Regions from separate parts of the Homo sapiens genome. Here all the other regions are linked to region 3. Evidence: promoter capture Hi-C in 16 types of primary human blood cells and fetal thymus (Javierre and others, 2016). All regions are on one chromosome and are shown on one strand. Each heading gives the region's core, a stretch centred on a gene start or on the middle of the fragment in contact. The rest is flanking DNA. Distances are from core to core; before and after follow the strand shown.

Evidence for each region. Contacts are between HindIII fragments. The CHiCAGO score rates a contact against its expected background, and 5 or more counts as called.
Region 1: a fragment that was not itself captured here is called in contact with the fragment with the promoter of PHLDA1 in region 3 in 1 of 17 cell types (neutrophils); the score reaches 6.3 in neutrophils.
Region 2: a fragment that was not itself captured here is called in contact with the fragment with the promoter of PHLDA1 in region 3 in 1 of 17 cell types (total B cells); the score reaches 6.4 in total B cells.
Region 4: the fragment with the promoter of GLIPR1L2 here is called in contact with the fragment with the promoter of PHLDA1 in region 3 in 12 of 17 cell types (naive CD4 T cells, naive B cells, neutrophils and 9 more); the score reaches 10.2 in naive CD4 T cells.
Region 5: a contact is called between a fragment that was not itself captured here and the fragment with the promoter of PHLDA1 in region 3, in 1 of 17 cell types (naive B cells). The highest score is 5.4, in naive B cells.
Region 6: a fragment that was not itself captured here is called in contact with the fragment with the promoter of PHLDA1 in region 3 in 1 of 17 cell types (neutrophils); the score reaches 5.1 in neutrophils.
Region 7: a fragment that was not itself captured here is called in contact with the fragment with the promoter of PHLDA1 in region 3 in 1 of 17 cell types (neutrophils); the score reaches 7.6 in neutrophils.

Annotation. Positions count from the first base shown.
Region 1 is chr12:75,348,971-75,352,277 of GRCh38, forward strand. All of the region lies in intron 3 of GLIPR1L1 (GLIPR1 like 1), which reads left to right. It also overlaps a transcript of CAPS2 not described here. Among named protein-coding and RNA genes, the nearest start is that of GLIPR1L1, 16 kb to the left of the region's middle. The HindIII fragment of the contact is 5,603 bases long and covers 1-3,307 here.
Region 2 is chr12:75,421,227-75,424,303 of GRCh38, forward strand. It overlaps GLIPR1L2 (GLIPR1 like 2), which reads left to right. Exons shown (of 6, transcript NM_001270396.2): 4 at 1,678-1,763. Among named protein-coding and RNA genes, the nearest start is that of GLIPR1L2, 32 kb to the left of the region's middle. The HindIII fragment of the contact is 210 bases long and covers 1,427-1,636 here.
Region 3 is chr12:76,030,526-76,033,739 of GRCh38, forward strand. PHLDA1 (pleckstrin homology like domain family A member 1) reads right to left here and starts at 1,251. Exons shown (of 2, transcript NM_007350.3): 1 at 1-1,251. The coding sequence starts at 1,216. The coding sequence ends at 11. It overlaps PHLDA1-AS1 (PHLDA1 antisense RNA 1), which reads left to right. Exons shown (of 2, transcript NR_186034.1): 1 at 1-69; 2 at 386-853. It overlaps PHLDA1-DT (PHLDA1 divergent transcript), which reads left to right and starts at 1,288. Exons shown (of 2, transcript NR_185978.1): 1 at 1,288-2,277; 2 at 2,739-3,214. RefSeq lists a silencer at 787-936 and an enhancer at 1,157-1,406. The HindIII fragment of the contact is 8,299 bases long and covers 1-3,214 here.
Region 4 is chr12:75,389,217-75,392,370 of GRCh38, forward strand. GLIPR1L2 (GLIPR1 like 2) reads left to right here and starts at 1,873. Exons shown (of 6, transcript NM_001270396.2): 1 at 1,873-2,134. The coding sequence starts at 1,901. It also overlaps a transcript of CAPS2 not described here. RefSeq lists a silencer at 1,675-1,847 and an enhancer at 1,805-1,934. The HindIII fragment of the contact is 6,589 bases long and covers 1-2,899 here.
Region 5 is chr12:76,590,600-76,593,833 of GRCh38, forward strand. The region is part of intron 3 of LOC105369850 (a long non-coding RNA gene); the gene reads left to right. Among named protein-coding and RNA genes, the nearest start is that of OSBPL8, 32 kb to the left of the region's middle. The HindIII fragment of the contact is 1,394 bases long and covers 852-2,245 here.
Region 6 is chr12:75,369,114-75,372,477 of GRCh38, forward strand. GLIPR1L1 (GLIPR1 like 1) reads left to right here. Exons shown (of 6, transcript NM_001304964.2): 5 at 847-873; 6 at 972-1,447. The coding sequence ends at 1,063. It also overlaps a transcript of CAPS2 not described here. Among named protein-coding and RNA genes, the nearest start is that of GLIPR1L2, 20 kb to the right of the region's middle. The HindIII fragment of the contact is 6,828 bases long and covers 1-3,364 here.
Region 7 is chr12:75,309,807-75,312,985 of GRCh38, forward strand. CAPS2 (calcyphosine 2) reads right to left here. Exons shown (of 17, transcript NM_001355024.4): 7 at 3,042-3,109. Among named protein-coding and RNA genes, the nearest start is that of CAPS2, 19 kb to the right of the region's middle. The HindIII fragment of the contact is 3,626 bases long and covers 1-3,179 here.

The sequences.
Region 1 (3,307 bases), core at 759-3,258, 680 kb before region 3:
GGTTGGCTGGCTCCCTGGGTTGAAGAAATGGAGCTAAAAGTATAGGAATACCAATACAGCTAGAGTTCACGGAAAAGAGTACCAGAGAAAAGAGAACTACACACAGAGAGAACCCTAGAAATCTGCAAATAATATTCCTAGAGTATTGATTAACACATGCACGTGAGGAAACAACTTCAGGCCAGGTTAAGAAGCATCTGAAAGAATAAGAGGACACAGTTCTTGGCACTCACACAGGGAGCAGAACTAAACTGCTCCAGACCCACCTAACAATTCATAATGTAAAACCTGAAAGGATCAAAATGTTCCCATGTAATTTGACTGTATCCCACATAAGAAATGATTGAAAATGATTATAAAAGCACAGAATTTTAAGAAAAGAACAACATAACTTTAACAACAACAACAGCAAAAAAACTCAAGGAGGTTTACAGAAATACACAATACCCAGCACCTAACACTTACAATGTCTGGCATCTAATGAAATATTACCAGCCATATAAAGAAGGAAAAAAATAAGACATAAGAAGAAGCTGAATCAATAAGTTGAAATGAATGCAGAACTTACACAGATGTTATAATTAAAAGAGAAAGACATTAAAATGGTTATTATAACTGTACTCTATATTTTTAAATGTTAAGCAAAGATATGAAAAATATTAAAAACAGAGGACTACAATGTCTGAGATTTTTTAGAAGTTAAAATTAATGAAATATTAGACATTCCAGAAAAAAAGATTAATGAATTCAAAATCATAACATTAGAAATTATCCAAGACAGTGATTCAGGAGTTCAAGACTGCAGTGAGCCATGATTGCCTTGAGAAACAGAGCAAGACCCTATCTCTTTAAAAAAAGAAAAGAAAAAAATTATCCAAGATAGAATCCATAGAGGAAAAAATATCCAAAAAGATAAAAAGTGTATCAGCTGCAATACAACTTTTAGTGGAAATTGATTTCCTTACATTGGACTCCCTGCTGGCCAGCGGGGCAGGCTGGAGACTGCCTAAGAAGACCGGGTCCCGGGAGGGAGGGGTGCCCACCACCACTGTGGCTCCAGTTGGCCATTTTCCCCTGCTGCTGGTGCCAGCAAGACTGACTGGTTTGGACCAGGAGAAATTCCCCACAGCACAGCACAGCCACTGTGACAGTTTGTGGCCAGACTGCTTCTTTAAGCGAGACCCTGACACATTCCTTCTTGCCAGGCAGGGCCTACCTGAGGGATTTTCAGCACCCCCAGCCAGGGGTTTATGGACAGATCTCTGATTTCCCTGAGAGGAGCCCCTAGGAGGAGGGGCAGCCACAGTATCATGGACTGCAATCTTATCCTTTTCTGATGGCAAGCTCTGAGGAGTCTGGGTAGTCTGGACAAGGGAAATTCCTGCTTATTTAAGTGGGTCCTTTATCCTATTTCCCCTGACTGGGTGAGATCTCCCAACAGGGGTCTCCAGGCACTGCATACAGGAGCATTCTGGCGGGCATCAGGTCAATGCCCCTCTGGGACAGAATGCCCAGTGGAAAGATCAGGCTGCCATCTTTGCTGTTCTGCCACCTCCACTGGTGATACTTCCAGGTGTCAGAGGGACCCAGGTGAACAGGGTCTGGAGTAGGCCCCCAGGAAACCACAGCAGCCCTACAGAAAAGGGGCCTTACTGCTAAAAGAACAAACAGAAAGCAACAACAGCATCAATAAAAAAAGACCACAAAAACCCCATCCAAAGGTCAGCAGATTCAAAGATCAAAGGTAGATAAACCCTTGAAGATGAGAAAGAATCAACGCAAAAATGCTGAAAACTCAAAAAGCCAGAGTGTCTCTTCAGCTGCAAATGATCACAACACATCTCCAGCAAGGGCACAGAACTGGGATGAGGCTGAGATGGACGAATTGACAAAAATAGGGTTCAGAAGATGCATAATAATGAACTTCACTGAGCTAAAGGAGTATATTCTAACACATTGCGAAGAAGCTAAGAACCATGATAAAATATTACAGGAGCTGTTAACCAGAATAACCAGTTTAGAGAGGAACATAAATGAACTGATGGAGCTGTAAAACACAACACAAGAACTTCACAATGCAATCACAAGTATCAATATCCAAACAGACCAAGTGGAAGAAAGGATATCAGAGCTTGAAGACTATCTTGCTGAAATAAGGCAGGCAGACAAGATTAGAGAAAAAAGGAACAAACAAAACCTGTGAGAACTATGAGATTATGTAAGATTGAACCTATGACTGATTGGGGTACCTGAAATAAATGGGGAGAAAGAACTGAGTTGGAAAACACACTTCAGGATATCATCCAGGAGAACTTCCTCAACCTAGCAAGAAAGGTCAACATTCAAATTCAGGAAATCCAGAGAACCCCCGTAAGATACTCCATGAGAAGATCAACCCCAAGACACATAATCATCAGATTCTCCAAGGTCAAAGTGAAGGAGACAATGTTAAGGGCAGCCAGAGAGAAAGGCCAGGCCACCTACAAAGGGAAGCCCATCAGACTAACAGCAGACCTCTCAGCAGAAATCCTAAAAACCAGAAGAGATTGGGAACAATATTTAACACTCTGTTTTGTTTTGTTTTTTTTTTTTTTGAGATGGAGTCCCACTCTGTCACCCAAGGTGGAGTGTACTGGTGTGATCTTGACTTACTACCACCTCCACCTCCCAGGTTCAAGTGATTCTCCTGCCTCAGCCTCCTGAGTAGCTGGGATTAGAGGCGCTCCCCACCACACCCAGCTAATTTTTGTATTTTTAGTACAGACGGGGTTTTGCCATGTTGGCCAGCCTGGTCTCGAACTCCTGACCTCAGGTGATCCACCCTCCTTGGCCTCCCAAAGTGCTGGGATTACAGGCATGAGCCATCGTGCTGGCCCAATATTTAACATTCTTAAAGAAAAAAATTTTCAGTCTAGAATTTCATATCCAGCCAAACAACATCATAAGCGAAGGAGAAATGAGATTTTTTTTCAGACAAGCAAATGCTGAGGGAATTCATCACCACCAGGCCTGCCTTGCAAGAGCTCCTGAAGGAAGCACTAAATATGGAAAGGAAAAATGGTTACCAGTCACTACAAAAAACATGCTGAAGTACACAAACCAACAACACTATGAAGCAACTATATAAATCAGTCTGCAAAATAACCAGCTAGCATCATGATGACAGGATCAAATTCACATATAACTATACTAACGTTAAATGTAAATGGCCTAAAGGCCCCATATAAAAGGCACAGAATGGTAAGCTGGATAAAGAGCCAACATCCATCAGTGAGCTGCATTCAAGAGACCCATCTCACATGCAAAG
Region 2 (3,077 bases), core at 282-2,781, 610 kb before region 3:
GGGTTCTAAACAAAATGCATTTCTTTCTTGAAATAGTTGGATAATAGAACAGTGAAATTGAAGAAGTGATATATGATCTACAAATAACCACAAACCTCTGGATGTTCCTGATAGACTTGAATGCTTACAATTCAAGGGTATCAGATGCCTTATTGGGTATCACCCAAACTCTCTGATTAAATAAGATATATCTGAGAAATGTGATACTCAGGTTTTTGAATATATATTTCTTAGGCTTGGCCATTCTTCTAGAAGGCCTAACCAAGGACTTAAATAATGAATGTTTGTTTTTATAGCTCCCAATTATATACCAGGTAAATAGGCAATACTGATTAAATTACCAGGATTAATGATGCTGCCCCCACTCAAATGTATCTTTTCCCTACTTGTTTTTTCTACCTTTCTTATCCTAGATCATTTATTTAAATTTCCCAATTTAAAAGTACTTTAGGGCCTTTTTTCTCATTTAGCTGTAGGCAATTGATGTAATTATTTCTTCTCTCTTTAGCTCTGTACAATGGGTTAAATCAACTTTGTAAACTCCCATTTATATTTATTTGCTTCTTTATAAATTTATGTGTTTTTATATATACCCCCAAAATAATTGATGCAGATGAGTCTTTGGGACACAAGCATTTCAGAATTTTGTAAACTCTACAGATACTTAATATATCATTTCTATGAAACTTTTTATGTATTTGGGCCAACCAGGAAGCAATTAATTATAAAAAATTCTATATCATTTATTTTTAAATTTTATTTCTTTATTTCTTTATTTATTTTAGAGACAGAGCCTTGCTCTGTTGCCCAGGCTAGAGTGCAGTGGCACAGTCAGCTCACTGCAGCCTCAAACTCCTGGACTCAACTGATCCTCCCTCCTCAGTATCCCGAGTAGCTGGGACTACAGGCACGCACCATGCCCGGCTAATTAAAAAAATATATCTTTTTGAAGAGACGAGGTCTTGCTATGTTACCCAGGCTGGTCTCGAACTCCTGGTCTCAAGAGATTATCCCACCTTGGCCTCCCAAAGCACCAGCATTACAGGTGGGGAAGCTACCCCACCCAGCCTACATCATTCTTTTTTTTTTTTTTTTGAGACAGAGTCTCACTCTGTTGCCCAGGCTGGAGTGCAGTGGCCCATCTCAGCTTACTGCAAGCTCCGCCTCCTGGGTTCACGCCATTCTCCTGCCTCAGCCTCCCGAGTAGCTGGGACTACAGGCACCTGCCACCGCACCTGGCTAATTTTTTGTATTTTTGGTAGAGACAGGGTTTCACCGTGTTAGCCAGGATGGTCTCGATCTCCTGACATTGTGATCTGCCTGCCTCAGCCTCCCAAAGTGCTGGGATTACGGGCATGAGCCACCGCGCCCGGTCTACATCATTCATTTTTAAAGGATACATTTTGCTATAAACTAAAATGAAAGAAGCTTTAAAACCGATTCTTATATTTAATTATAATACTTTGTTTCTAGGGCATGGGAATTCGTTTCAGAAAAGACCGTTTCCTAGGGGAGAACAAAAGGGAAACATTGAATCTCTAATTAAAGTATTTCCTTAAGTCCAGTTTCTTAACCCGCCTTTTTAACCTGATTAAAAATTAGTAACTATATTATTTAAATTACATGTAAAAATGGAAGCTTATTCTAACTAAATGTTTTCTGCTTTTTTGTTTGTAGAGGAACACTGACGAGAAGACCTTATGAACCAGGAATATTTTGTACTCGATGTGGCAGACGTGACAAATGCACAGATTTTCTATGCAGTAAGATAAAGAAAATAAACATGAAAAAAATGCATAATGGATTGGACAAGAAAAATAAGCGATTGAACACTAGTTTTTTATGGTCATGTTAATATTATTCCTTTGATCAGAATGCTACTATTATGTTATCAAAGGATGGTTGACACAGTATCATCTTTAGATTTTTCTAAACTGCAGAGCTTTTTCTGTTCTATCTTAACCCTATTCCTTCCCCTGAGGACATACCAGAGTGTCAGAAAGAAAGAATGAGAACTAACAGTTATACCCTTAAAAAGCTTCACAGTTTATGCCCAAACAGCAGCCTGTTTGATAATAACTGCTTTAAAGGATAGTATATTCCAAAATATTTATGAAGTAGCATATATTTAATACCCTTTTCTTTTAGTTTTTCCTCCAAAAAGCTGAAATCTCCAAATATTTCAAAAGTAAAAAGTAGAAAATATGTTTGATTACATTTTTCTTTTAGTTTTTCCAAACATGAGAGAATATACTCCAAAAGTATAACTGTAGCTAAAATATACAATGCTTAGAGGAATATGGTAGGAGATAAATTTGGATAATAAGTAAATAGCATATTATGTTGTTTTTTAATTATTATACTTTAAGTTCTGGGGTACCTGTGCAGAACGTGCAGGTTTGTTACATAGGTATATACATGCCATGGTGGTTTGCTGCACCCATGAACCCATCATCTACATTAGATATTTCTCCTAAGCTATTCCTCCCCTAGCCCTGACCCCCTGACAGGCCCCAGTGTGTGATGTTCTTCTCCCTGTGTCCATGTGTTCTCATTGTTCAACTCCCACTTATGAGTGAGAACATGCAGTGTTTGGTTTTCTGTTCTTGTGATAGTTTGCTGAGAATGATGGTTTGCAGCTTCATCCATGTCCCTGAAAAGGAAATGAACTCATCCTTTTTTATGGCTGCATAGTATTCCATGGTGTATATGTGCCACACTTTCTTTATCCAGTCTATCATTGATGGGCATTTGGGTTGGTTCCAAGTATTTGCTATTGTGAACAGTGCTGCAATAAACATATGTTTGCAGGTGTCTTTATGGTAGAATGATTTATAATTCTTTGGGTATGTACCCAGTAATGGGATTACTGGGCCAAATAGTATTTTTGGTTCAAGATCCTTGAGGAATCCCCACACTGTCTTCCACAATGGTTGAACTAGTTTACACTCCCACCTACAGTGTAAAAGTGTTCCTATTTCTCCACATCCTCTCCAGCATCTGTTGGTTCCTGACTTTTTAATGATCACTGTTCTAACTGGCATGAGATGGTATCTCATTGTGGTTTTGATTTGCAT
Region 3 (3,214 bases), core at 1-2,500:
GCTGCCCCTTTCAGGCAGAGTTGGAGGTGCTGCGGAGAAGCCGGTGCCCGTGCGGCTGCGAGTGCGGCTGTGGGTGTGGGTGCGGTATTTGGTGCGGATGCGGGTGCGGGTGAGGGTGTGGGTGCGAGTGAGGATGAGAGTGTGGATGTGGATGTGGATGCGGATACGGGTGGAGCTGCTGGGGCTGAGGCTTGGGTTGGGGCTGAGGCTGGGGTTGTGATTGGGGCTGGGGTTGCGGCTGAGGCTGAGGCTGGGGTTGGGGCTGGAGCTGCGGCTGCGGCTGCGGCTGCGAGGGGGGCTGCTGCTGGACCAGGTGCTGCTGCTTCTGCCGCGTGGATTTGACCGCCAGGATGGCCTGACGATTCTTGTACTGCACCATCTGCAGCGTGATCTCGGCGTTCCAGCCCTGGTCTTGCGGGCACCGAAAGTCGATCTCCTTGCCCTCTGCCATCACCACAGTGAAGTACATGTACTTGCCCTTGCGCTCCACACAGTCCACGGTCTTCATGTTGGAGAAGTGCAGTTCCTTGAGCTTGACCGGCGGCTCGAGGCTGGCGACAGCGGGGCCACTGGGTTGGGACGGCTCGGCCGGCCCCTGCCCGGGCTGTTGTTGCTGCTGCTGCTGCTGCTGTTGCTGCTGCTGCTGCTGGTGTTGCAGCTGCTTGGGCGGGATAAGCAGCAGCCCTTCCTCGGTGAGGATGCAACACTTTTTCTTCCAGAGCTGCAACAACCCGTCGCTGCGCTTCTCCAGCACGCCCTCCTTCAGCGCTTTGCAGCCGCTACTCTCCAGCATCCTCCCAGCATAAGAGGGGCCGCCGCTTGGCTCGGCCTCTCCGTTTCCAGCCGCGCGGGCCGGGGGCAGCAGCAGCAGCCTCGCGCCGTCCTCGCCCCAGCGGCTCCCACGGCCGCCTGCCCGGAGCGCGCAGAGGAGGCTAACACGCAGGAGGCAGAGCGGCGGCGGCGGCTCTGGGTCCCGGCAGAGGGACAGCCGCGTCCTGATGCGCCACAAGGTCCCGGAGCTCCGAGCTGCCGGGCCTCTGCCGTCCTCTTGCGAGCGCTCACTGAAGGGCACTGGCCGGGCCCCCTCGCGGCGCTTTTGAATGGGCCATCTTCCCCACCCCCGAGTGACACCCAGCGGAAAAGGCGGCTCCTGGCGCCCGCACCGCGGGGGAAAGCCCAGCTCCAAGAGGCGCTCGGCAGCCGGCGCACGCCTCATTAACTTGGGGCCTTTCCAAAGCCCGCTGCGTCCACGCCCTCCAGCGTCTCTTGCTCCGCCTCTCGCCGCCCACTTGCTTCCGCGCTCGTTCCCCTGGAAGGCGACCCGGACCCGAGCCCCGGAAACTCCTCTCCTCTACCCAGGGCGATCGCCCAAGGAGCCCTGGCTGCCTGACTACTGCCGACGCTCACAGGGCGCTGCGAGGCCATCCCCCGCGTCCCGCTTCTCCCCGGCCCGCGGGACTCTCTGCTAACAGCCTCAGAAAGTGAGGACGGGGGCGCGGAGGCGGGGGCAGCCTCCAGGCAGTGCTGCCTCTCGGTTCTTGGGAATTAGCCCGGGGGATTCGCGCTGGGCTCCGAGAGCCCGCAGAACCAGCGTCGTGTCCTGGGCGAGCTGGGAGGCCGGGGCCGAGTCCCGCGAGTCCCGCGAGTGTGCCTCCCCCGGACGCCTAGGTAAACAACTGAGCGCACAGAGGCCGAGAGGACATCGTGTCTTCCCACGCATATTCGCTCACGGTCACTAAGTAGCTCTTCTTGGAAAGAGGGCGATTGTTAAAGCAATAGTGCGACTGTCGGGCTTGCCACGGGTGGAGAGAGGCGGACCCACGTCAGGTCGCATCTCGCCTGCTTTTCTCGACCCCGACCGCAGGCGCTAACCCGTCTTCGGCTTTCTTCTTGACCCGTACGGTTTGCAACGTCTCTTAAAACAGTAACTCAACTCTCTACAAACCGGGGTAATATCCGGTGCTGAGATCCCACACTGCAAGGCGCAGTTCCAAACGTCTGGTCGGCCTCGCAGGTCCCTCTTTCCAAGGCCTAGCCAGATCTTGGTTTTGGAATCTCATTTATCTGTGACCTGGGGAATGCAATACCCCCAGCTCCCTCCTACTCCTACATTTAAACAATGCCTATAGAAGCCGCTTCCTGGGAAGTAAGGCATAACCGAGACCTAGCCTCCCGGTAGGGAAGTTCATCCGTTTAGTAAACAGCCCCAACTACGTGCGGACCCTCACGGGGATACGAAGAATTCAACCAGGGCTGGACAAGTCAGAGTGGGCCAAGGTAAGAGTTACGGCTGCTACTGTGCCCACGTTGGAACAGATAGATTAGTTCATCTGCTAGTTGTGTGGCAAGAGCAAAGAATTCAAGAGGGGAAGAGAAAGTGAGAGGAGCTTAGAGAGCTAAGCAAGAATCGAATCCTTTGTGTGTCATGGTAAGAAATTCGAACTTAATACCAAGGTAGTCAGAACAAAGGACAACTTTTATACACGAGGGCGTCCTGAATATTCATCTAAGAAACAATGTCTGATCAAACGGGACAATCCAGCCAGCAATCCTGAGTCCCACCGGATTATGCTTGGCCAGCTTTCTAGCCTTCACATTGTTAATTTATTAGCAATCTTTTCAGGAGAAAGGCAATTATTAAAATTATGTGGACTTCTAGTAAAATTATCTCGAAGATTTACAATTATGTATACCAATAACAAAAAAACTACATGTTTTCTGCTCCCCTGCCTTTGTAGGACAAGTGAGCATTCCAGAGAATTTCTACATGACCAGCTGTTCATTCTTTTAAGAGGATGACATTCTTCAGCTCATCTGGAAAGGATACTTCCTTTAAGTCTGTTATTCACAGTCTCCAAGGGCAGGTGTAGTTGGGAAAGACATTTCATATGGAAAAACAAACTTGATAGGGTAAAAAAAAAAAAAATGAGATGTAATCTGGAGGCCCAAGTCATTTTCTTAGGAGAAACTCAAATGTGTTTGGTGTTATCTAACCTTCTGCAGTTTATCAGTCTGAAACAAATGCATTCTATTCTCATTTGAAAATGTCTGAACAGCCACCAATTTTCAAAATCACCCATTTAACTAGAGACTTTAAAGCCCAGAATTTGCAGTTACGTATTTCAGAATGATTTAGTAATTTTGTGAGCAGCTCAGAGGTTAAGTCTACAATGTCTGACTACGGTGCATTATTGAAAATATCAGTAGTGTAAGG
Region 4 (3,154 bases), core at 623-3,122, 640 kb before region 3:
CTCTGTATTGTAACTGTTTGATGATTCATCTGTGTCACCTTTAATTAAAAGCTCCCTGTGGATAGACTCCATGTCTAGCTTGTTCAGCATTTGAGCCTTTAGCTGGGCTGTGACACACAGGAAGTACCAAGGAAATATTTATTGAATGAGATGTCTAGCAGTGGAATGGGCTTCCCTGTTGGTCTAATTATTTAAGAAAAGGATGTGATGATCACCTGTCAGTGATGTTCCGGAGAGTATACCTAACACAGGAGGCTAGCAATAGTGGCTAAAATTTCTTCCAAATCTAAGATTGCATTATTCTATTTATACTTTTTCTTTAGCATTTTTTGCAGTCTAACAACAGTACCACCATAATAAAAGAATTGCATCTTTCAGCACTTGCCACCTTCACCCTTAAATAGGTTCTAGCCATACTAAAATACTTCTAGCGTTTAGGATCTTCCTCTCCTTAGGCACATTACATGCTTTTCCCTTTGTTTAGAATGCTATCTTAGACTTGTCTGTTTCACTTTCTGTATACAATTTCCAGAAAGGCTTCCCTGCTCCTCCACAAGAGTACCAAGCAATAGAATTTTGGCTTTGTATTTATCACGTTTTAAATACTGCCTGATTGCTAATTCACTAAATTGTAAGCTGCTTGAAAGCTGGATCTGTGTCTTGTCTACTGATCTTTCTCAATCACTTAAAACTTACTACTATGCAGTCATAGTAGTAAGTATTCAAGGGCATAAATGAAACCATCTTACATAGGTCTATTGTTTTTCAATTGTGTGCATCACAGACAATTTTTAAAAGCACTTTTCTTTTTATAAATGTTTGGCTAACCTGTTACAATGTTTTGTAGTAAAATTCTCTCCCAATGTCAATTTTCCATATCTGCTTAATGCTATTAAGCACAATATGTAATATGCAAACGTGTATTCCAAAACTAATACTTGCTTTTTTTCCATGCTTAGAATTTAAAGTCTTCAAAGCAAGTTGGTTTTGTTTTGTTTTGTTTTTGAGGAAAATGTTTGGAGGTAAACAGATCAGACCAAAATCAGCTAGATATTAGCCAATTTTGTCTGGAACAAAAAAAGAAAACAAAAGAGTTCGTTCTTACTGTGAATGCCACAATTAGTGAAAAAGATGAATCTTGATATTCCGGGCTGTCTGAATTGTGCTGATGAGAGAAGAAGTAGAAATGTTTTAACCTTTGAAGAGTTTGGTGATCCCTACTCTCCCTTCACTCCCATTTATTTTGTGGTTTCCCACAAAGGTTCATTTAAAAACTGAAAAAAATCTCATCAATTAAGTTGGCCTTAAGAACTTCTTTGGCCTTAAGAACTAGCAATATTTCTGTATTCCATTCTGTCCCTGAGGAAAATAAAAGGCAGGCCCTGCACCAAATTTCCAACTCAACAGGTAATGGGGAAAAAAAATTTAATTGAATTTGTATCTGTATCGCAGAAAAATCATTTCACCTGGCACAATTAGAAGGTTCCTCAGACCTGTTACTCAGCAATTGGCATTTACCATACAAACTGATGACTCATTAATAACGACATATCATTCAGTGTCAGAAATCAATTCGGGATAACATTTCACTACATTAGTTTAGTGAAAAGGGCTTACTCACGTAACACAAGTCTTTCTTTAGTTTGTCAGACATCTATTACCAGCTTTCTTCACTCTGCAGGTCTAGCTTTCCCCTCCTCTCCCCCTCCCCTACCCACTCTCCCCTCCCTCTTCTCTCCTCCCTCCTCCTTACCCCCTCCTCCCTCCTTTGTTTTTCCCTCCTCCCTCCTCCCTTTCTCCTTCCGGGAGGCGGGACAAGGCTTGCTTGCGTCCTCCGTAGATTGGCAGGTCACTGGGACGGCCAGCGCGTGCGCACTGGCCTGTCAGCGGCCGGTGGACCATGGAGGCCGCAAGGCCCTTCGCCCGGGAGTGGAGGGCCCAGTCCCTACCCCTGGCAGTAGGGGGCGTTTTGAAGCTGCGGCTCTGTGAGCTGTGGCTACTGCTACTGGGTTCTAGTTTGAACGCCAGATTTTTGCCAGACGAGGAGGACGTAGACTTTATCAACGAGTACGTGAACCTCCACAATGAGCTGCGGGGCGACGTCATTCCCCGAGGGTCTAACTTGCGCTTCATGGTGAGGCCGGAAGGCGGTTTGCCGACCCTTCCACTACCGTTGCCACAACGCCTCCCTGGATCTCGGGTAGTTGGGGCCACTGCTCTGAGGCTGAAGGATCGCGGAGAACCGCACTTTTAGCTTGGTTTTTAAAGTACACGTGAAGTTTACACAGAGAAAAACTGCGGACACTCTAACACATGCTTATTACCATGATATTACACAGGGCCAGGACTAAGGTGATGGAGGCACTGGCCTGAAGTGCAGATTTTAAGGGGGCGCCAATTCAAGAAAATGATATTTTAATGCAACGGGTTTTTAAAAATTAAAAATCAGTGCAAAAATATCAATATCAAGGGTAAAGAAAATGTTAAAAAATTTAACAAAGACAGGTTCCTTGGGTCTGGATTAGGGAAAAACAAGTGCGACACTCTCAGGGTGGTGCAAATCAAGATGAGATTCTGTTTGTATTTGAAATTTTTATTTTTAGCTTTTTCCATCATCGATGTCACATTAGCTTTGCCTTTTAAAAATGTTTGTTATCTTGATTTTTTTTTTTTGTGCCCATTCCAAATTTGGCTCCTAAGGAAGTGTCTCAGTTTCCTCACCCTAGTCTTGACCCTGATTTTGCCTTACCTTACAATGCGGTTCTTGCTTTCCCCCTCTTTTACACCCTATAGTCATTTAACAACTCAACTATTCCCTGGTTGCTATTGAGTTTTCCTGACTGTCATTAAAATGACTGAAAATCCGGCAAATAAATAACTGTCCTCTTAGGGAATTAGAAGCTTCAAACTTATAAATTATATTGCAAGGACTACTTTCCTAGACATGTCTTTTCTTCCTTCAGCATTAGTTCTTAGCACAAATTTCAGAAATGGGATAAATAAATTAAGGGTATGATATTTTTTATTAATTTAACACATAGCAATTGCTATGCTAAAGGGTAGTGCCAAATTTAGCAAATACCAGCTGTTCTGTTTTCACCACATCCTCACTGATTTGGACATGTTCAATTACTTGCTAAATGAATAAATTACA
Region 5 (3,234 bases), core at 299-2,798, 560 kb after region 3:
CCAACACCTTCACTGTAGCCTGGAGAGACCCCAAAGTAGAAAACCCAACTAAGGTGTATCTGGACTCCTGACCTACAGAAAGAGAGATAGTAAATGTGTGTTATTTTAATGTGTTCAACTTGTGTTAATTTGTTACATCGAATTGGAAAACTAATAGAGATTTTGGTGCCTAGAGGTAGAATGCTACTGTAATAAATATGTAAAAATATGTCTGTGGCTTTGAAACTGATCAGTGGACAGAGACTAGAAGAATGCTTGAAAAGTATGATAGACAAATCCCAAATCACTGCGAACAAACTCTCAGTAGAAATGTGGATATTGAAGACTGCTGTTGAGGACTCAGAAGGAAGTAAGGAACATGCTATAGGAAACTGGAAGAAGGGAGATCCTTGTTATGTACTGGCGTAAAGCTTAGTGAAATTATTTCTTGCAATTACGTTGAAAGCAGAACTTGTAAATGGATGAATTTGGTTATATAGTTAAGGAGATTTCCAAGCAAAGTGTTGAAGGGGACAACTGGTTTCTTCTTGCTACTTACAGGAAAATTCAAGAAAAGAGACAAATTGAGAGAAGAACTATTAAGCAAAAAGGAATCAGGACTTGATAATTTAAAAAATCCTCATCTTCCCCAGATGGCAAAAAATATTAACAGTTGGAGATGGCTTTTGGGCACTGTCAGAAAAGCCTACTCTAGAGAAAATGCACTTGAAGTTACTCTATAATCTTTTTTAAAGCCCCCAAAAGATCAAAGGTCAGAGTACTCAGGGGTATTTCAAGATACGGCCCTTAGATTTGAAAAGATCTAAGGGTATGCCTCAGATCCTCTCAATCACACTATTGAGCCTCTAGGAAGCTTAAAGGAGATGGAATTATTTTTGAAACAATCTGTAGATGTGGCCTTTGTCTGATAAGAGTGAATGCCACTGAAATACAGAAAGAACCACAACATTCTTGAGAAAATTATTTCTGCAGAAACAGTGCCAACTTGGAATAAGACAGACAGAAAGACTAGAAAATGAAAAGAGGCTGTCAGACCTCCAAAATTTTACTGGCAGAAAGCAGGCTGATAAAACTACTCATCTGCAAACACATGCTACCTTCCATGAAAAAGGAAGAATGACTCAGATGGTGGAACCAAGAACCCAGAAAGCAGAGCCAAGAGCCATGAAGAATCATTCCCAAGCCTAGAAACTTAATTAAGGAACTTCCAATAAATCCAGTTGTATTTCAAAACTGCTATAGACTAGTGACTCCTTTTTACTACCCATTTCCCCTATTTTTAAACTGGAATGTCTATAGCTATTATCCTGTGTCTGTCCCACCATTGTATGTTGGGTGTGTTGGAGGCAGATAACTCATTTCCTTGGTTTCAGAGGTCCATAGTTAGAGAATAATTGTGTCCAGGAGCTTTACTTAACAGGTTATACGTAGGAGGCTCATCTGCACCTGGACTTGATTCACATGATGAAATTTTAGAATTTGAGCTGATGCTATAATGAATGAAACTCTTGGGAACTGATATGGTTTGTCTCTGTGTCCCCACCCAAATCTCATCTTGAATTGTACTCCCACAATTCCCATGGGTTGTGGGAGGGGCCCTGGTGGGAGATAATTTGAATTATGGGGGAGGTTCCCCCATACTGTTCTCATGGTAGCAAATAAGTCTCACGATATCTGATGGTTTTATCAGGGGTTTTATCAGGGGTTTCCACTTCTGCATCTTCTTCATTTTCTCTTGCCGCCGCCATGTAAGAAGTACCTTTCACCTCTCAGCATGATTCTGAGGCCTCCCCAGCCATGTAAGTCCAATTAAACCTCTTTTTCTTCCCAGTCTCAGGTATGTCTTTATCAGCAGTGTGAAAACGGACTAATACAGGAACCTTGGAAGGGGAGAAACCATATATTTCATATGGGAGGGCCTGAGGAAAGACTGGCAGACAGAACCTAGGCTGATTCTCCAATGACCCCCACTTTCTGATATCAATGCCCCTGTTAATTACATCCCATGAATATGGGAGGAATCTGTGAAGCATCTAACTTATAGAATATGGCAAAGGTGACAGAATGGCATTCCTATGATAACATTATGTTATGTAAGACTTCATATTGCTAGTAGACTCTTCTGCTGGCCATGAAGAAGCAAACTGCTATGTTGCTGCCTATGGAGTAGACCACATGGCAGGCAACTTGAATGGACTCTAGGAGCTAATGGCATCCTCCAGCTGACAGCCAACCAGCACACTGAAGCTTTCAGTCCTATATCCTCAATGAAATAAATTCGTTCGGCAAACCATATGAGCTTGGGAGCAGATGAGCTTCCCAATGAGAACACAGCCCACCTGATGCATTGACTCTAGCCTGGAGAGACCTGGAAGCAGAAAATCCAAATAAGCTGTGTCTGTACTCTTGACCACAGAAACTGGGATATAATACATGTTATTGTTTTAGGCTGCTAGATTTGGTAACTTGTTATCCAGCAATAGATTACAAGTGCAGTCAAAGATTGTCCCAGAGAGTGTTAACTTCTTTACTCTTCCAGGTTGTACATGCCTAAGCGCAGAGTGGGTTCTCATTGGCATCCATGCCATATCATCAGAGCAGCACAGGTTTTGAAATGATAAATATGTGGTACAGTTGCACAAAACTGGTTGCCATAGCAATAGTTGGTATAAAAGGTAGGCTGAAAGGATGTGAAAAAGATTATTCTAGTTTGTCTCATCCTGGCTACCATTTCAGGGAGTCTGTGTTGCTTGACTGGGTGGGGGCAACCAGATCATCATCTCTGAAGGGTCTGAACTCTAATTCTTGCTCTTCAGTGAGTCTTAATTATTACAATTACCCATTTATACTTATCACCAGACATGGAGCACGAAGAAATAACTCAGTGAATCCTATGTGTTCCATGCATCGGACTTCCTGTCTCCATTGGGTAGCAGCAACTCTATTTCATATGGGTAATCAAGGTCAGTTATCACCACCAAGATAGTAAGTGTTTTCATTGATGGTCCACTGACACAAGTGATCTAAAATGATCATGTGATAGTTATAGTTTCCAGTTCAATGGAGACTTCATGTGTGCCCTCATAGAAGTCCCCTTCATACCAAACAAGTGCTTCTAATCCTGAAAAGCCTAAGAATGCACAGATAGGAAGCCCAAATTCTGCAAAGGGGTCAATGGGAGTGTTGGTGAGAGCCATTCCTACAACCACCCTTTGGTTTCTGGACCTGTATATT
Region 6 (3,364 bases), core at 437-2,936, 660 kb before region 3:
TTGGAGTCAGATGGTTTAACTCAAGAGGTGATTAAGCGTATTAAATATGATTAAATACACAAAATTATTTGAGCCTCTCAAAAAGTAATTTTTCAATACATTTTAGCTATTACTATAATTCAGTTCCAAATTTTCTATCATTTAACCCAGTTTATATTTTGTAGCATTCATCGCTGACATTATCATTTTTACTCATCTTATTTATTTATTTAATTTTAAAATTGAGTATAGATTTTTCTCTCCTCATTTTTCCACAATAAAAGGGATTTTATTTTTTGCTGGTAACCATTATATCCAAAGCTAGAATCATGCTGAATACGTAGTAGAAGGTCAAAAAAATTAATTAATTATTTTTTTAAGTAGATTATTTCCTAATGAAGTGCTGGATGCTATTAGAATGGTAAACTGGGGAGGAAAGTTTGATGTGGAAAAGACATCGAGAAATATTTGGAGTAAGGACCATTACAGAAATGAATGAGATTGTTAATGAGTTCTGCATACAAAAAATTCAACATGAAGAAATTACGTTTCTTCAGGGACGTGAATTGGGAATGAAAGAGTGGGAAAAATAAAGTTAACTACTTTATAGCTTTTTCTGGTTTTGACTTTTGTGCCTTCAACACTCAGAGGTGTTTTAGAAATATTTGTTGACATAACACTGTTGGTAGGAAGCATCGTAAAGAGTTTTAAGTACTGTAGGATTGAGTAGGAAAGTTTCATTTTCTTGTTAAAAAGTCAAACTAATTTTTGTTAGTTGATTGTCTTATTCTAAAAGCCATAAAAGCAAAGAAATATGTTTTCTTGTTTTATAACATTTTATAATATTAACTTTAATTTTTACTTTAGGGACTCCACAACTTATTATACCTAACCGTATGTATCAAAATATTTTAGTATTAATTAAATTATTTCCTCCCGTTGAAAATCAATTGAACTCTTAACTATTCTGGTTTTGTTTTTGTTTTTGACAGAAAATCCATTTCTGAAGCCAACGGGGAGAGCACCTCAGCAGACAGCCTTTAATCCATTCAGCTTAGGTTTTCTTCTTCTGAGAATCTTTTAATGTCATTTATATACAAAAGAAATTCTCAAATGTTAAAATAAAGGAATAGTTTATTGCTTAATATAACTTATCATCACTTTGCTTCTTTACTGAATCTTCTACACTCTTGCCTGATACCTAAATTTAATGTTTGTTTTTAACTCAAAAAATGTACTGTAGTATGGAAAATGGATAGCAGTAGAATAAAGTCTTAAGATTATTTTTTAATTACAAATCCATATGTGTATCAAAAGTGTTCCACTCTTTAATTTTCTAATGAGAATGGATTATCATTTTAGTTATAGTACATTTAGAGAACTAAAGACTTTTCACATATCAAATAGTTTCCTTAGATACCAATAGTTTCCTTTATGAATACCATCAACATCATTCAGAAACAAAATGTTACTGAGGAAAGTTTTTTCAGATAGCATGTAATGTTATACATTATGGCCATAATCAATGGTTGGGGAATAAATCAATGAATTAAACTCAAAAAGTTAAATTAACTAAATTTTCAACCTTTAAAAAGTAAATATATGTTCTGCAAATTAAAGTTGCACTCTTCTAGGAGATTTATTTTTAAATATGCCCCACAGAAAATAACAGGATGCTAACAGCATATCTTTTAAAAGCCATATAAAATTAGTATAGGTAACAACATTTCTACAAACCAGATAATTATTCAGTACTGGCATTTCTTTTTTCTGAAGGAAAAAAACATAATATTTAATAAATTCAGTTTTCAAAATCATCAATGCTGAATTGTTGACTCCTGTGGAGTAAATTATCTGGATGTTTTTCTTCTCAACTAAGGCAAGCTCCAGCTTCCCTCAGCTATTGCATTAGGGCTCTCTAAAGGGACAGAACTACTAGGTTATATGCATGTATAAATGAGAATTTATTAAGGAGAATTGACTCACATGATCTATAGGTGAAGTCCCATCTGTAAGTTGAGAAGCAAGGAAGCCAGCAGTAGCTCAGTCCAAGTTTCAAAATCTCAAAAGTCGGGAAGCCGACAATTCAGCCTTCAGTGTGTGGCTGAAGGCCTGAGAGCACCTGGTAAACCACTGATGTAAATCCGAGAGTCCAAAAGACGAAGAACCTGGAGTCTGATGTTTGAGGGCAGGAAGCATCCAGCACACGAGAAAGATGAAGGCTGGAAGATTCAGCAAGTCGGCTCTTCCATCTTCTCCTGCCTGGTTTATTCTAGCTGGCAGCCGATTGGATGTTGCCCACCCACATTGAGGTGGGTCTGCTTTTCCCAGTTCACTGCTCTCCTTTGGCAATACTCTCACAGACACACCCAGGAACAATACTTTGCATCCTTCAATAAAGTTGACAATATTAACCATCACAAGTCCACCCCTTGTCTACTTGAAAAATACACATCTCCTGAAATCATATATAATCTCCAAATAAAGACAATAATAAGGTTATAATTATGTCTAATATAATACAGCTATCCTTTGTACAACCGGAAGTGCTCTAATCATTAACCTAAATGTTATTACATAAAGTTAAGAACACTTAAATGTCTAAATGAAGTCAGTAAATCTTATGTCACATGATAAAGGAAAAATAGAGGGAATAAAATGAAGATACTTTCTTAGTACAAGTGTATACATGCACAAACATATTCTTAACAAAATAAGGAGAAAATACTTATGACAATTACAGTCCTCGTTTCTGCAACTGGTCACGTGGTTGTATTTATGACTACCTGTTGTTAGTTTCCCATTGACCTTAATCACAGGCATGGCAAAACTAAGAAACGCTCTATGGAGTCTCCTGTATTCCATACATACTCTTCCTTACCTCCATTAAGGAGTAGTAGGTTGATTTCATCTTTTTTGTTTGTTTGTTTGTTGTTTCTTTTTTGAGACGGAGTCTCTGTCGCCCAGGCTGGAGTGCAGTGGCACGATCTTGGCTCACTGCAACCTCCGCCTGCTGGGTTCAAGTAATTCTCCTGCCTCAGCCTTCCGAGTAGCTGGGATTACAGGTGCCCATCACTGCACCCAGCTAATTTTTGTATTTTTAGTAGATGGGGTTTCACCATGTTGGCCAGGCTGGTCTTAAAGTCCTGACCTCAGGTGATCCACCTGCCTCAGCTTCCCAAAGTGCTGGAATTACAGGTGTGAGCCACCACGCCCAACCTGATTTCATCTTGATAGTTTAAGTCAATCACCCCAGCCAACACTATAACTCTTGTTAGCCTGTTGACTTAGAGGTAGGAGGAGCCCAGAGTAACCAGGTGGCAATCCTAACCTCCAGTTTAATAGAATACTTCTTGTATCTCCTGGTGGCAGCATTTCTCCCTCT
Region 7 (3,179 bases), core at 444-2,943, 720 kb before region 3:
TGGCATTTATAAAAAAGTGGCACCTATTCTATTCTCACACTTTATTTATCAGTTCTGTGTTAAATATACATACACAGAATGTTAGAGTTATAAGAAATCTTAATGTTAATTTGGCAGAAGCAAAAATCAAGACATAGAGAAGGAAAATATGAAACCTCAAACAGCAAATTAGTCACATAGCTAAACCTAAAACCAAATTCTGCTGACTGCATTTAAGTCCTCTTTTCCAGTTCATTCATTCATTTACCTATTCAACAAGTTTTACTATACAGCTACTAGACTAGGCAATGGGAGTGTAATAGTGAGCAAAACTTCCAAAGTGCTCTGCCCTCATGAAGCTCACATTCTGAAGAGGCTGAAAGATAATTAACATGATAAACAGAGAAAATACAACATGAATTACATGCCCCTATGGAAGAAAAAAAGAAATGGTAAGAAGATACAAAGTTTTGAGAAAGGCATCATAAATTTATTTATGGTCAATTTATTTATTTAAATGTATTTATGGTTTATTTATGGTAAGGCCAAAGTAGGCCTCACCAAGGTGACTTCTAAGTAAAGATATGAGCTAAAATGAGTAAGCAGACATATAAATTTCTGGGGAAAAGGCATTCCAAGAAGAGGGGAAAATAAATGCAAAGTACCTAAGACAGGAATGGAACCTGGTATGTTCCAGAACAGGGATAAGTCAAATGGCTAGAGGAGAATAGGTAAGAGGGAGAGAAGTCCAAGGTCCAAGGTCCAATGGTGGGCTTGGATAGACTGTGTTATTGGCCTGAATTTTTTAGTAATCCTGATCCATTTCCTTGCTATGGCCTCATTAAAGGTGGTATGCACTTTCTCACCCCTTGACCTTGAGCTTTTGACTTGCTTTGGTCAGTTACACACAGTTATACGACTCTGCTAATCTCAACTGAACTAAGTCATGCAAATGCGGATTGGTTGGAAATCTGTTTATCTAGGATGGTTTCAGCTAAGTAGCTCAGTGGCATTTGTAGAAGGACCTTTTTCTTGAGACTACCAGGCTAGCCAAGCAGTGTTCTTCTCTCAAAGGTAGCAGAAGCACTAAAGGGCAAATGGAAACACATGAGATCATTTAAAGCCTAAGATCAAACCTAAGACCATTGCTTTTGCTCATATACAACTGGTCAAAATAAAAAGTAAGGCCCTTCCAGCCATGGCAAGCCTTGATAGCTAACCTAAAGACACATGAGCAAAAATTACTGTTCTTTTAAGCTACTGAGTTTTGTGGTGACACATAATTAATACGTGAGCCTCGTAGGCTTCACTATGATTAAAATGAGAAATTCCTGGAAGGTTTTATCTGGCTTGCCTTTTAATGGATTAACTACGGGGTGCCGGGTTGAAAATAAACCAGTAAGAGGCAAATGCAGAAACAATGAGGCCAGTTAAGCAGTCCCTGAAATAATCCAGGAGACACACAAAATAAGTTTGAACAGGATGGTGGCAGCAGAGGGAGTAAATCTATGTTGATAGCAGGACTGAGCATGTTTGTTGACAAGCTGGATATAGTATTTGAGAGAAAGAAAGGGATCAAAATATCACCAGGATTTTAGGTCTTAGTAACATGAAGAATTGAGTTACTATGGAGGAAAATTAAAGATTTGGTCATGGAGGAAGAGAGGGCAATAAAATTTCAGACACCCAGATTGGAGAAAGTTAAATTGAAATCTTAGAGAAGCATCAGAATATAGCTGGTTTTTAAAGGCATGATACTGGATGAGATCACTTAAAAAGCAAACACAAAAGAGGTCCAATAACTGAGCTGTTGGGCACACCCACGTAGGGAAGATGAAGAAGAACCAGGAGAGATTCTGAGAAGGGGAGAAAGGTAGGAGAACAGTCACGTGTCACGTGCAGGAAGCCATGCAGGAAAAAAAAAAACAAAAAAAAAAACAAAAAAAAAAAAAAAAACCTGCCTCAAAGAAAATAAGGTTTCAAATGAGACAACTGCTGCAGATGGGTCAAGTAAACGAGAACTGAGAAATCATTAGTCTAGCAATATGGATGTCACTACTCATGGAAAAAAGTTGTTGGAGGCATGGATGGTGGAGGTGAAAACACTAAGTTCATGAGACAATGGAAGGAGGGACATGGGAGACTCTAGGTATAATTATTTCAAAGAATTTACTGAAAAACATGCATGTAGAAACAGCCACCATTATTTCTGTCATGCATTCTTTCTGCCACACAACTAAACAGTTTTTTCAAAGCTAAGTCTTACTTTTTCCTTGAAGTAGATTATTCCAACCTCTTCAGAAATTCTAGCATAGTTCCATATTATCAAGCAATTCAGCACTGCATATGTTAAAACTTTAGTTTTCTAAGGGGTTTTAAAATTCTTAACAGTCTCACAGTTCTTGAACTGCACCAAGGAACCCTGAGGTACCACAGTGAACTCACAGGGGTACTATGGGATATTTTTAATTTTTGAGGGAAACTCAGTGATACTTGACATCACTTGCACATCAAGTAAACTACTAGTTCAGCCTCAGGGTAGTTCACAGTTTCAACAAGACAGCACACTATACTCCTTCAATGATGTTACATCTTTGCAGAGCTGAGTTTTCTATAGTTGCTATGATAAAAAGCAAATATCAGGTGAAAATCAATATGGAATATAAAGTGAAAGTGGCAGCATTGTAAATGATTCTAGGATTTGAGACACTGTGCAGTGCCCATAAGATGCATACAGATCCTTAGTAAGAATAAAGTAAGGATATCTTCTTTCAATTTATGTGTATTATTTTTTTAAATGGTCATTAGTTGTTAGGAAATAAATATTTATTAAGTTGTTTAGAGAAAAATATTTAACAAATAGAACTGTTAGGTATTTCTATTCGTCTAAGAGTGCTGTGAAAAAAAATGACTAAAACACTAACGGTGCAGTAAACAGAGAAAGTTTGGGAACCTCTGAGTTAGCCACCCTTTAATTGACCAAGGATATGAATGTCATGCATGAAAATAAATTTAATGAAAACTTTCTGAATTGATTTCTATTACCAGTTGCTAATTCTCACCTAGATAAGTGGTCTATCATCACTTGCTCTGCAACAATCTGTTTCTTCTTCTCTGCAGCCACAATTTCCTGGGAAGATTAAATAAAGACAACTTCACCATCCATAAAGCAGAACCATACAATACTTAACACAAAAGTT